Regions from separate parts of the Homo sapiens genome. Here region 1 is linked to region 2. The links are contacts of gene promoters, found by promoter capture Hi-C in human tissues and cell types (Jung and others, 2019). All regions are on one chromosome and are shown on one strand. The core of a region is centred on a gene start or on the middle of the fragment in contact, and the rest is flanking DNA. Distances in the headings are between cores, read along the strand shown. Region 1 overlaps ELF1 (E74 like ETS transcription factor 1). Region 2 holds the start of KBTBD7 (kelch repeat and BTB domain containing 7).

Region 1 (6,667 bases), core at 2,132-4,631, 220 kb after region 2:
TCCTTCGTTGAACTGTTTTTATATTGTGCCAGTATCACATTGTTTTCATTAGAATCATTTTATAGATTTGATATCCGATAGGATATCCTCCTCCCCCCAAATTGGAATAGGATTTTGAATGAATTTTAGAGTTAGCTTGTTAAGCTACATGAAAACCCTGTTGGGATTTTTAACTTTTTAAAGTTAAAAAGTATTTATGACTTTTAAAATAATGTATTCTGTTTTGGCTGTTTATAAAATCACTGAAGGCACCAGATTAGAATATATTTTTTGTTTTCAGTTATGGTCTAGGTTATAAATATATATTAGTCTAAAGAAACTGACACTATTAATAGGGTTGCCAGCATTTTGATCATCTTCCCTTATTCAGTTCATATTTTCCAGAATTGCTTGGCACTCTTGAGTGGAGATGGCAGGGGTCATGGCGGGGGTGTTGGAAAGGAAATATCAATGCTGTTGATGCTGACAATTTAAAACTCTGTTGTTGCTGTCTGTTCTAAACTGGGAATATTTGTAGCTGAGAATGAAGCACTTCTATGGGAGAGCAACCCCATCAGTATTGAATGCAATATCCCTTTATGCAATGGTGCTTTGGTTTGATCTTAACAAGCGTGTTAGCATGGTGAATGTATGAGAAGAAGAAGCAAGCAGAAGTCTATGGATACAAGTTTCTAAAGAGAAGGAAACCTATTTACTTAAATGTTCCAGGAGTTAATTTAATGAAGAACAGCCGGCATAGTTTAATGCTTTTTATAATTTTGATATATTATATGAAAAAAACACTGTATTTTTTTTTCAGTCATTGGTTTTAAAAGTAGAATTTCTGGCAAATCATATTTGTGTTTAATAGACTTAAGTCACTAGAGAGAAGTTTGGTGACATGGAAAAAATGAACATGTGGAACAACAAATTTTTATAGAATCTCATCACAATATAAGAAGGTAGTCTTAGCACTTTCCTCTCTAGGGTGTAAATTGGCTTCCTCCGACTGCTAATTCCTGGAGGTTAAAGAGTAACAGTGCCGGGTGCAGTGGCTCATGCCTGTAATCCCAGCACTTTGGGAGGCCAAAGCGGGTGGTGTATATCACATGAGAGCAGGAGTTCGAGACCAGCCTGACCAACATGGAGAAACCCCATCTCTACTAAAAATACAAAATTAGCAGGCGTGATGGTGCATGCCTGTAATCCCAGCTATTCAGGAGGCTGAGGCAAGAGAATTGCTTGAACCCGGTAGGTGGAGGTTGCAGTGAGCTGAGATCGCACCATTGCACTCCAGCCTGGGCAACAAGAGTGAAACTCCGTCTAAAACAAAACAAAACAAAAAGAATAACAGTGCCTTGCTGTCTTTTATACAAGCTGCCCAGTGATTTTTTCATGCAGTGTTTGGGAAACACTATTCAATGTAACACAGATAAATGCAAAGTGCTGTGGATACTGAGAATGGAGCCATTGACTGCACTGCAACTTTGGGAATGCTTCACCATGGAAGTTGAACTGGATCTCAAAGGAGGATCTAGTTTATCTGACAGATGAAGAAGAGGAGGTGTTCTAGAGCAGTAGAGTGTACCAAAACTTTTAACAGATTCTCTTGACTTCATTATCAGTCCAAACATCTTAATTTATGGTTAGAAACTTTTCACAGTGTGCCTGTTTCACACTATGTAATTTTCCAGAATGCTTTCCTGCTTCCCCACTGTTTGCTCAGAAATGATCTCCAACATTCATACCTGTTGCATATTTAAGTCTAATAATCTTTCAAGATTTTAGAACAAAGCATACTTTTTCCAGGAACTCATCCTAAAATAATTCCTTCAAGAATTAACAACTTTATTCTGTTATTTCTATGTTGCTTATTATCAGTCTCACGTTTGCCATCTTAAATTTTCATATACACATTACTAATTTTTTCAAATGTGTTAAATTATTTGAAGTAAGACATTGTCTTTTTTCCCCTTAATATTACCAAAGCCTTTAATATCACTGAGTCCTCTTAAAGATTTTTTTTCTTTTTAAAATCTGTTGAATAAGTGATCTCTTCTATAAAATAGGTAAAACTTACCTGTTGCTAGATGATCTGGGATATATAAGTGTTCAGTTATGGTTCTTATCATATCAGAGCATCTCTGAATAATGAGAGGGTGATACCTTGCCCACAGCTGTCTTGACCACAGAATACATTTTCCCAGGACCTATTGTCCACATTCTCATTTGGTGCAGGGACAATGTAGCCATGTCACTACAGTTCTAAGACCAGAAACAGATGCTCATGGAATCTTTTTTCTGAAGTATTTGGAACTGATCTGTTGTACATTTAGTGGAAAACACTTCAAATAACTTTTAAAGATTGTCATTGAAATTGTAAATAAATAAAATGTGTTAAATGACAGTTGTTCACATTTATTAAATCTGGTTGTAGGCATGTGGATGCTTTTGTTTTTCCCTCTACTCTGTTGTATATTAAAATTGTTTTTCAAAAAAAAAATCAGAGAAACTAACATTCATATAGAACTTTCCTTTTTCCTTATATGCTATTTCCTGTATGTAAGAGGATAAGTCACACCAACCTGCCATTTTTCAACTGGAATGGCAAGATTCTGTTAGGTCAGAGATTAGGTGTACCTCATAAAGTAAGGTAGAAGGAATGAGTTGATAGTGTTTAATGTGTAACTTATTCAGCGCCAGTGATGAGAAGGGCAGGAAGCTGGAGTGTTGCTACTGATCTGTACGTGGACTTAGTGGATCCTCTGTTATTTACCTTAAAATTCCAGGTTCTATCTGCTTTGGTTGCCTTCTTTTTAAATCTTGTCATATCAAACTTAAGAAATCCATTAAAAGCTTGGCCATTTGTGAAACTAATATACAGAGGTTGCTTGTTTATTTTTGGTACACTTGGAAAAGTCTTTATCAAAGGAGTTATGTCTTAGAGTCCCCAGCTACAAGCCTGATTGCCTTCTGGGGGAGATCTGACTTTGCATAAAGGCTGAGGCCCTCTTCAGGTTAAGTGAAGGAACAACCCTGCCTGTGGTCTAACATTTGGCTTATCTCTTTGCCCATTCTTGGCAGCAAGGAGGCTGATAGTTGTTATGAAAGAGGAGTCAGTGTGGAGAGTAGGAACTTATTACTCTTTTTTGCAAAATCTTCCTTTAACTGCCCCCTAGCCATCCCACAGAGGCCCAGGGATAACGTCCTGAAAATGAATAAGATGAGATCATTGTATAGGGTAGAACATGGACTAGATGGGCTTCAGAAACTTTCAGTGGTGAATTTTAGTAGCTAGTGTTTAGTGAGCATCTTGCCCCATGCACTGTGCTTTATAGGGATTATCCTATTTAATTCTTACAACAATCCTAAGAAGTAGGTGCTCCTAATTCTCACTACAAAAGAGTCAAGTGAGGCTCAGCGAAGGGAAGCAACTTGCCTGTAATTTCATAGCTACTAAGTGATAAAGCTAGGAATTGTAACCCAGCCTGTGCCTTTAACCACTAATTGAATAATACTAGCCACTGCAACATGTAAGTGGTGAAAAGTAGTTTAAAATATGGAAGAATTATTATATCCTGCATTTATGATTTTGGCAAAAAAGTGTTACTAATTTTAGCTAATTAGTATAATTACAGGTAGATGGTTCTTATGCCTGGCATACCTGTATATGTACCTTTTAAAAAAAACAGCTTTATTGCAATGTAATTCACATACCATATAATCCATCTACTTAAAGTGTACAAATCAATGGTTTTAAGTTTATACAGAATTGTATGTCTGTCTCCATAATCAATTTTAGGACATGTTTATCACCCCAAAGGGAAATCTGTACCTGTTAGCAGTCATGACCTATTCTTCCCCACTCTTCCTAGCTCCTGGGAACTACTAATCTACTTTCTGTCTCTGTATGTTTGCCTATTCTGGACAATTCAGTTATAGTAAATGGAATCATAGAATATGTGCTGTCTTGCGACTGGCTTCTTTTACTTTGGCATCCTGTTATCAAGGTTCATCTGTGTTGTGCCATGTATCATTACTCCATTCTTTTTATTACTGAATAATATTGTATCATATGGATATACCACATTTTATTTATCCATTCTGTACACATTTTCAAAGAACACTTTTTAAAATGAGGTTTGTGTTGGTCAGTTTCTTGTCAGAAATAGAGTTGGCAACGTCTTCTCCCAGAAAATACTCAATCACCTAGAATAGCCTTCCTGGGTAAAAAAAAAAAAAGGAAATTAGCACCTCTGTTGCTTCTAAAAATAACTTAAAAAAATTTCCCCTAACATTTGACACCTTTGATGTGTCTTAGTTTTGCTATGTGATCTTGAAAATTTTTGTCTCCTTTCCATTTCAGTGAACACATAGCACATAAAAGATAGGCAGTTATATAAACAGTTAGTGTAACTGGCCTTTTTTAAAAAAGAGGGTCATTTTCAACATATTTAGAGAGTACTGATGAAAATAATTGTTTGTGTGTGTTTTAGAAATAGTAACCAAAATTCTCAATATTAGAGCAATTCTTCTTTTGGAAAATTGCCAAGGAATTGTTGTTAGAAATGCTACATTATAATATTTTGACTGGTAAAACATTTGTAAGCTGACCCATTTAACCTGTTCCCACTAAATGTGATGTTGAAAGTACTGAAGATACGAGACCAGGAAACTTATCAGCAGGATGATGCGAAGATTAAAGTTAGGAAAGAAGCTTCCCTCCTAAAAGGTGATCTTTTAGGTGACAGTTTAATGATTTATTATATTTTATGGTTTTACATGATTTCTGCATTTGCCCTATTCTACTTTATTTTGTGGCATATGCAAAATAAAAACAAGAACTTTTAGAACAAAATTCCATTGTTCTGTTGGAAAGGAGCTACTGGGAAGCCCAGCTATCTGTAATCTCCTCCCTCCCCTTTCCTACCTCAACACACACATTCGGAAATAATGTATTATTTAAAGACTTAGGTGGGAGATGATTTTTTAAACAGTGATTGATTAGTGTGTGTTCAGTCCACTGCCCACAACTTTGACATAACATTTAATCATGAAAACTGATGTTTGTCAATCAAGAGTCTGTGTGATATGGCATTAAAAAAACATCAATTTGGGAGCCTGGCTCTAGCTGTGTAACTTTAGACAAGTTTTTACATATCATTGAGCTTTATTTCTTTCACAAAAATAACAGAATTACCTCCCAAGGTTATGAGCATTAAATGCTTATGCAATGCATTTACCTATAGCATGGTACATGGAACAGTCCTCATATTAATGACCTGAGATAAATCAAGAAAAAGCTTTAATAGCTCTTGTCTTACACTGGATAATCTCTATTATCCAACTGGGTAAGTGAGGTGATGAAAGTGATTTTTGTGACTTGCATACCAGTTATACAAATTCATTCAGATCGTTTTGTTTTGTTCTGTTGTCACATTTTTCCTTTGATAATCCAGAATGGCTGTCTTGATTCTAGAATAAGCCAATAAACTTGTGACTCAGGATTTTAAAAATCTGGTGGACTTATGCCGTAAGGGAGCATTTTCCTTTAACATTTGTTTCGACATAGTTTGCCCTGGCGTTGTTCAGTTTTTTTGGAGTACCACTAATTTCTCCCATACCTATGAGCAGGTAGTATGAATTTTCCATTCTGGGAGAGACTCTATTGTAGCTAAACTGCCTGTATTCAAGGATGCCTTACCTCATTTTATTCTTTGCTGTGTACATATTGTATAAGATTCTTGTCAAAGTCCATCTTTTCATAGCAGAAATTGCCCTTTATGATTTTTTAAAATTCTTTGAGTTATATGGAATCTGCATGTTTAAAACACTTACCTGTCTGGTAGTGACTACTCTGATATTTATTAATCTACTTAGTTTGTAAGTAAAGTAAACATTTACATCTGGTTAAAATTTACTATACCCCCCCCCAAAAAAAAACTACCTGTTTGTTTACCTCATAACTGATTCTGTTTACATATACCCACACATACACAACCCACCAATACTATTAAGCTTTTAATGTGGACATTCCAATAAGAAAACAGATCATTCTCATTGACTCTTACTTTTTGAGATGTATGGCCAAATTGTAATTTATCCTGGCTACAAAAAGAAGAATCTAGGCAAAGACTAAAGAAAGCCAATTGTCATGACACAGTTACACTAGGATTAGACTTTGTTAAAAAATAACTCCACAAGGATTTGCAATGGAATTTCAAACATTATCTTGGGGAATTCTGGAGAAAAGACCATTTTACTTAGACCTTTATGTTTTTGATGGTGCTGTGCAAGAGAGAAGCCAGGATTTTTTCAGAAACACTCAAATACTGGCCAGACGCAGTGGCGCATGCCTGCAATCACAACACTCTGGGAAGCCAAGGCAGAAAGATCGCTTGAGCCCAGGAGTTTGAGACTAGCCTGGGCAACATAGGGAGACCCCGTTTCTATTAAAAAAATAGCTGGGTGTTGTGGTGCCTGCCTGTGGTCCCATCTACTCAGGAGGCTGAGTTGGGAAGATCACTTGAGCCTGGGAGGTGGGGGCTGCAGTGAGTTGTGATCTTGCCACTGCACTGTAGCCTGGGTGACAGAGTAAGACCCTGTCTCAAAAAAAAAGAAAAAGAAAACAAACTTGTTTCAGCTGTAGGTCTAATACAGTGATCATTTAGAAGATAACTATCAATCT
Region 2 (6,172 bases), core at 1,498-3,997:
AAGCTTTATAGTTTCCACTTTTCCATTTAGTATTAGGAGAAATTTTGAATTAATTTTTTGCTTATGGTGTAAGGTAGGGGCAAGGGCAACTTTCTGTCTTACATTCTTGATCCAGTTGTTCCAATAACATTTGTTGAAAAGAATTTTCTTTCTTCATTGAATTGCATTGGTATCATGCTGTATTTCTAAAATTTTAAATTTAATTCCTCAGTTGCACTAGCCACATTTCACGTACCCAAGAGCTACATGTGGCTTCTGGCTACTGTATCAGCCAGCACAAATATAAAATATTCCCAAGTTTTATGGGACAGCACATAGCTCTAGATCTTAGGGAATAGTGCCTAATAGATATCTTCAATTGTGTGACAGGTAACCTAAACCAAATAACACAGTAAGAGCAGATATAAGGAAGGTAAAAATCAGTCACTGCCTATATGAGGTACCTAGAGTAGTCAAAAGTCATAGAGACAAAGAGTAGAATGGCAGTTGCCAGAAGTGGGGGCTAGAGAGTTATTGTTTAAATGGGTACAGAGCTTCAGTTTTGTGATAGTGGCAAAACCGTGTGAATATATTTAATGCTAAAGAACTATACACTGAAAATGTTTAAATGGTAAATTTAGTGTTATGTATATTTTACCAATATTTTAAGAAGTTTTTTAAAATGGCCATTCCTGCGCTGGGCATGTGGCTCATGCCTGTAATTGCAGCAACTCAGAGGCTCAGGCAGGAAGAGTGCTTGACACCAAGATTTCCAGACCAGGCTGGCAACACAGTGAGACCCTGTCTATAATTTTTTTTTAATTAACTGGGTGTGGTGGTATGCATCTATAGCTCTAGTTACTTGGGAGGCTGAGGGCAAAGTATTGCTTGAGCACTGGAGTTTGAGGCAGCAGTGAGCTATTATGGTGCCACTGCACTCCAACCTGGGTGACAGGGCAAGACCCCATCTCAAAAAAAAAAAAAAAAAAGAAAAAAAAAAGGCTTTTTTCCCCAGCTGGTATTCACTGCAAGTCAGGAAACAATCATTGTTACTGATAATGACTGACTTGATTCTCTCTGGTGTATCTGAGGGATATCTAACATCTCTTTTTATTTACAGAGGAGTTATTAGAGCCCAGAGGCTGACTTAATTTAATGTGTCTACCCTAGAGTATTTCCAGTGGACTTCAGCTGATAAGTTGAAGTTATCTTCAGCTGATAAGAGAAAAACAATTTGAAAGTTATTCTCTTGTAATGTGTTATCCATACATGCATGTAACACTGATGATTTTCTTTATTAGGTTATGGTAACATAACAAACTAGCAGCAGGAGCAGTCATGGTTTTGTAATAAAAGTTATCTGAAAAAGTCTGTTACTGGTGGAGGGTGTCCAGGTTCTTGGCGTTTTGGACAAAAAATTGGACAAAACACATAAACAAAGCAAGGAAACAATGAAACAACAAAAGCAGAGATTTACTGAAAATGAAAGTACACTCCACAGTGGGGAGCGGGCCTGAGCATAGGGGCTCAAGGGCCCTGTTACAGAATTTCTGAAGGTTTAAATACCCTCTAGAGGATTCCACTGGTTACTTGGTGTACACCCTATGTAAATGAAGAGAATGAAGTAAAGTTACAAACTCATTTACTCAGCATACACCCTATGGAGAGGATCTTTCCTGTTATAGCTAAAGTGTGAATCAGCCTTATGTTCCCTGCCTCCAGACCCTATTTTCCTGCCTCAAATCTCTAATACTTGATTTTGATGATTTAACTGTTGATCCCAATGCAAATATAAAAGACTTTGTAAAGCATAGACTATACTATATATTAATTCAAGGAATGTCAGGGCATGTACTGATGTTGAATTCTGAGAATCATGTGCTTTTGTACAGAACAAAGTCTGTTTGTTGAAATATTTTGAGTTAAAATACTCCCTAAAACTCCTTAATAAAGGGAATTACATAATCTGTTAATTGATTTGTGGAACGGCAGTGAAAGAGGCTGTATTAGACGACTTGAAAACACTCATATTTGGAGCTTAACGAAAATACTCCTGCTCTCCAGAGATGAAATGTTAGTGAGAGCAGCAAATAATTTATTTTTATATGCTGGATTTGCGTATTTGAGACCATCTATTAATACTGTTCTTTAGGACCTCAACCTAGTCGTCTAAGACATCCTTATTAAACGAGACCAATAGATATCATTTAATATTGAAAATATTGTTAATGCCCTTCAAAATCTTTCGAAGGAATAAACATTAAAAACTAGAAATTCTTTGTAAAATTTTGCGGTTTAAAATAATACTCGGTTTCAAATTAGTGGGTGCCTCATTTATCATAAATTATAAAAGAGAATCTAACAGTTATTGGCTACATTCTAGGCACGGGGTAACGCTTTACTATTCTTCTAACCAAAAACATACATGTATCTAAGTATCCCATGTAAGGTATCATTGAACCACACAAAACCCTATGAAATACTGGCAGGGGGCGGTGGCTCACGCCTGTAATCCCAGCACATTGAGAGGCCGAGGCAGGAGGATAATTTGAGCCCTCAGGAGTTCAAGACCAGCCTGGGCAACAGTCTCTTCACCATCAAATCCAGGAGAATTAATTTCTACTGTTAGAGCAGTCAACTAAAGGACAGCTCGCGATATTACACAAACTACTACTCCCAACATGCAAAGCGGTTTCTTTCCCTCTGTCCCCGCCCGGCCGTCCGAGAGCCCCAGCAGGCCTCGGGGCGCGAAAGGCAACCTGGGAGCAGTAGTTCTCCCGGGCGCCTAGCGGGATCGCCAGCGCGGCAGTGGGGGCTTCCGCGGCTGCAAGCCAGCGGGTCCTGTGAGGGCGAGCGGAGGCGGAGAAAGGGCGCGGGAGTGAGAGAGGGTGAGTCAGCCACTGTCTATGCAATAAAGGGAGGCCTCACCGCGGGATAGGGCTGAATTCAGAAGTGCGGCCCGTGCCGCAGTCTGTTCCAGGACGCGGCTTGTCTTAGCGTCAGCGAGGGAAGGTTGAGGAGGAGCCAGAGCCTGGTCCTGCAGCCTTTCTCGCCGTCAGCGCCCGTCGCCATCTCCACCATGCAGTCCCGGGAAGACGTCCCGCGCTCTCGCCGCCTCGCCAGTCCCCGTGGTGGGAGGCGGCCCAAGAGGATTTCCAAGCCCTCGGTTTCGGCCTTTTTCACGGGTCCAGAGGAGTTAAAGGACACGGCCCATTCTGCAGCCCTGCTGGCACAGCTCAAGTCCTTCTACGACGCGCGGCTGCTGTGTGATGTGACCATCGAGGTGGTGACGCCTGGCAGCGGGCCTGGCACGGGTCGCCTCTTTTCCTGCAATCGCAACGTGCTAGCAGCTGCGTGTCCCTACTTCAAGAGCATGTTCACAGGTGGCATGTACGAGAGCCAGCAGGCCAGCGTGACCATGCACGATGTGGACGCCGAGTCCTTCGAGGTGTTGGTCGACTACTGCTACACGGGTCGTGTGTCTCTCAGTGAGGCCAATGTGCAGCGCCTGTACGCGGCCTCCGACATGCTACAGCTGGAATATGTGCGGGAAGCCTGTGCCTCCTTCTTAGCCCGACGTCTTGACCTGACCAACTGCACCGCCATCCTCAAGTTTGCAGACGCCTTCGACCATCACAAGCTTCGATCTCAGGCCCAGTCCTACATAGCTCACAACTTCAAGCAGCTCAGCCGAATGGGTTCAATTCGGGAGGAGACTCTAGCAGATCTAACCCTGGCCCAGCTGCTGGCTGTCCTACGCCTGGATAGTCTGGACATAGAGAGTGAGCGGACTGTATGCCATGTAGCTGTGCAGTGGCTGGAGGCTGCTGCCAAAGAGCGGGGTCCCAGTGCTGCAGAAGTCTTCAAGTGCGTGCGCTGGATGCACTTCACTGAAGAAGATCAGGACTACTTAGAAGGGCTGCTGACCAAGCCCATCGTGAAGAAGTACTGCCTGGACGTTATTGAAGGGGCCCTGCAGATGCGCTATGGTGACCTGTTGTACAAGTCTCTGGTGCCAGTGCCAAACAGCAGCAGCAGCAGTAGCAGCAGCAACTCTCTTGTATCTGCAGCAGAAAATCCACCCCAGAGACTGGGTATGTGTGCCAAGGAGATGGTGATCTTCTTTGGACATCCTAGAGATCCCTTTCTCTGCTATGACCCTTACTCGGGGGACATTTACACAATGCCATCCCCTTTGACCAGCTTTGCTCACACTAAGACTGTCACCTCCTCAGCTGTCTGTGTGTCCCCAGACCATGACATCTATCTAGCTGCTCAGCCCAGGAAAGACCTCTGGGTGTATAAACCAGCTCAGAATAGTTGGCAGCAACTTGCAGATCGCTTGCTGTGTCGTGAGGGCATGGATGTGGCATATCTCAATGGCTACATCTACATTTTGGGGGGACGAGACCCTATTACTGGAGTTAAGTTGAAGGAAGTGGAATGCTACAGTGTTCAGAGAAACCAGTGGGCATTGGTGGCTCCTGTCCCTCATTCCTTCTATTCCTTTGAACTCATAGTGGTTCAGAACTATCTTTATGCTGTCAACAGTAAGCGCATGCTTTGCTATGATCCTAGCCACAATATGTGGCTGAACTGTGCTTCTCTTAAACGTAGTGACTTTCAGGAAGCATGTGTCTTCAATGATGAAATCTATTGTATCTGTGACATCCCAGTCATGAAGGTCTACAACCCAGCTAGGGGAGAATGGAGGCGGATTAGTAATATTCCTTTGGATTCAGAGACCCACAACTACCAGATTGTCAATCATGACCAAAAGTTGCTTCTCATCACTTCTACAACCCCACAATGGAAAAAGAACCGAGTGACAGTGTATGAGTATGATACTAGGGAAGATCAGTGGATTAATATAGGTACCATGTTAGGCCTTTTGCAGTTTGACTCTGGCTTTATTTGCCTTTGTGCTCGTGTTTATCCTTCCTGCCTTGAACCTGGTCAGAGTTTTATTACTGAGGAAGATGATGCACGGAGTGAGTCTAGTACTGAATGGGACTTAGATGGATTCAGTGAGCTGGACTCTGAGTCAGGAAGTTCAAGTTCTTTTTCAGATGATGAAGTCTGGGTGCAAGTAGCACCTCAGCGAAATGCACAGGATCAGCAGGGTTCTTTGTAAATAGTATTTTGAGACACTAAGATGTTTCTACTGCTACGGAATGTATTTTAAACACATATCGTTTCTTTTTCTTGGAAAAAAAGTTGATTAGGACCACAGATTTGGTTTAGAAAGGGTAATATTTTGAAATACTACAAGGTTTAGACAGTCCATGAAATCGACCTGTTTAATAATTTACCATCCTGAAAGTCCAGAATTAAAATATGGAAGCAAGAACTATATAATTGATTAGGATGCTTGGTAGGTTTTTTTCATTGTTCAAATATTCATTGCACAGTGGATTGTTTTGATTAGTTAGTATGCTTTTTTTTTAATTAATTCAGTCTTCTGTTAATTTTTAAGTTTTGGTTAGTGCCACAAGGAATTTAACTTTTTGATTTGTATAATAGAAAACTGAACTAGGAATTGTTAGCGGGGTTTTGAAGGATGTGTACTTTCCTTCAAAATAAAGTGGTAGATTTTCAAAATTTTACACTAGTCAGTTCTTTATATTCTAAGTTAAATGTAGTTTGTAAAATTATTTTGGTTTTCTTCTACAAAGGAAAAAATTGGATTTATATATATAAGGTTACTGCATAATGATTTCATTTTGATAATGTGCAGAATGGCCTCATAAGCTCACAGAAAGTAAAAAAAAAAAAAAAAAAAAAGAAAAAATCAGGATTCCACTGTTTTAAAAGAAATCTCAGTTTTTATTTTGGAATATAAAATGTGTATTTGGTATATGTGACCAATTTTCTATCCCAAAAAACACCCATTCTTAGTAATGTCATGAATTAAACACCCTTCTAAACCAAAAAAAAAAAAAAAAACGGTAACTTGCTTTTTATGTTTGTGTTTTTAATTTATGCCCAATACATGCTTTACTGACTCAGAGGAACAATTCCTGGACATATAATTGGGTAATGCAAATTTTTATCCACTGGTCATGATTTGTCTTAAAATGTTTACTTGCCTCCCTAAAATATTTTGGCTGTGTAGGTTTGGTGTTTGTCCTAGAGGATTCTTCAACAGAAAGTGATTTATTCTTTACTGTTTTGTGAGGTAATATGGTTTAGA

Evidence for each region. The method cuts DNA at HindIII sites, captures the fragments that hold promoters and counts their contacts. A contact is called where the count stands out against the background at its distance.
Region 1: a contact is called between a fragment that was not itself captured here and the fragment with the promoter of KBTBD7 in region 2, in 1 of the 25 tissues and cell types used here (dorsolateral prefrontal cortex).

Annotation. Positions count from the first base shown.
Region 1 is chr13:40,971,197-40,977,863 of GRCh38, reverse strand. The region is part of intron 2 of ELF1 (E74 like ETS transcription factor 1); the gene reads left to right. Among named protein-coding and RNA genes, the nearest start is that of ELF1, 45 kb to the left of the region's middle. RefSeq lists an enhancer at 2,739-2,888. The HindIII fragment of the contact is 4,519 bases long and covers 1,122-5,640 here.
Region 2 is chr13:41,191,144-41,197,315 of GRCh38, reverse strand. KBTBD7 (kelch repeat and BTB domain containing 7) reads left to right here and starts at 2,747. Exons shown (of 1, transcript NM_032138.7): 1 at 2,747-6,172. The coding sequence starts at 3,059. The coding sequence ends at 5,113. All of the region lies in intron 3 of KBTBD6-DT (KBTBD6 divergent transcript), which reads right to left. RefSeq lists enhancers at 2,577-2,666, 2,977-3,246, 2,591-3,297, 3,298-4,005. The HindIII fragment of the contact is 7,226 bases long and covers 1-6,094 here.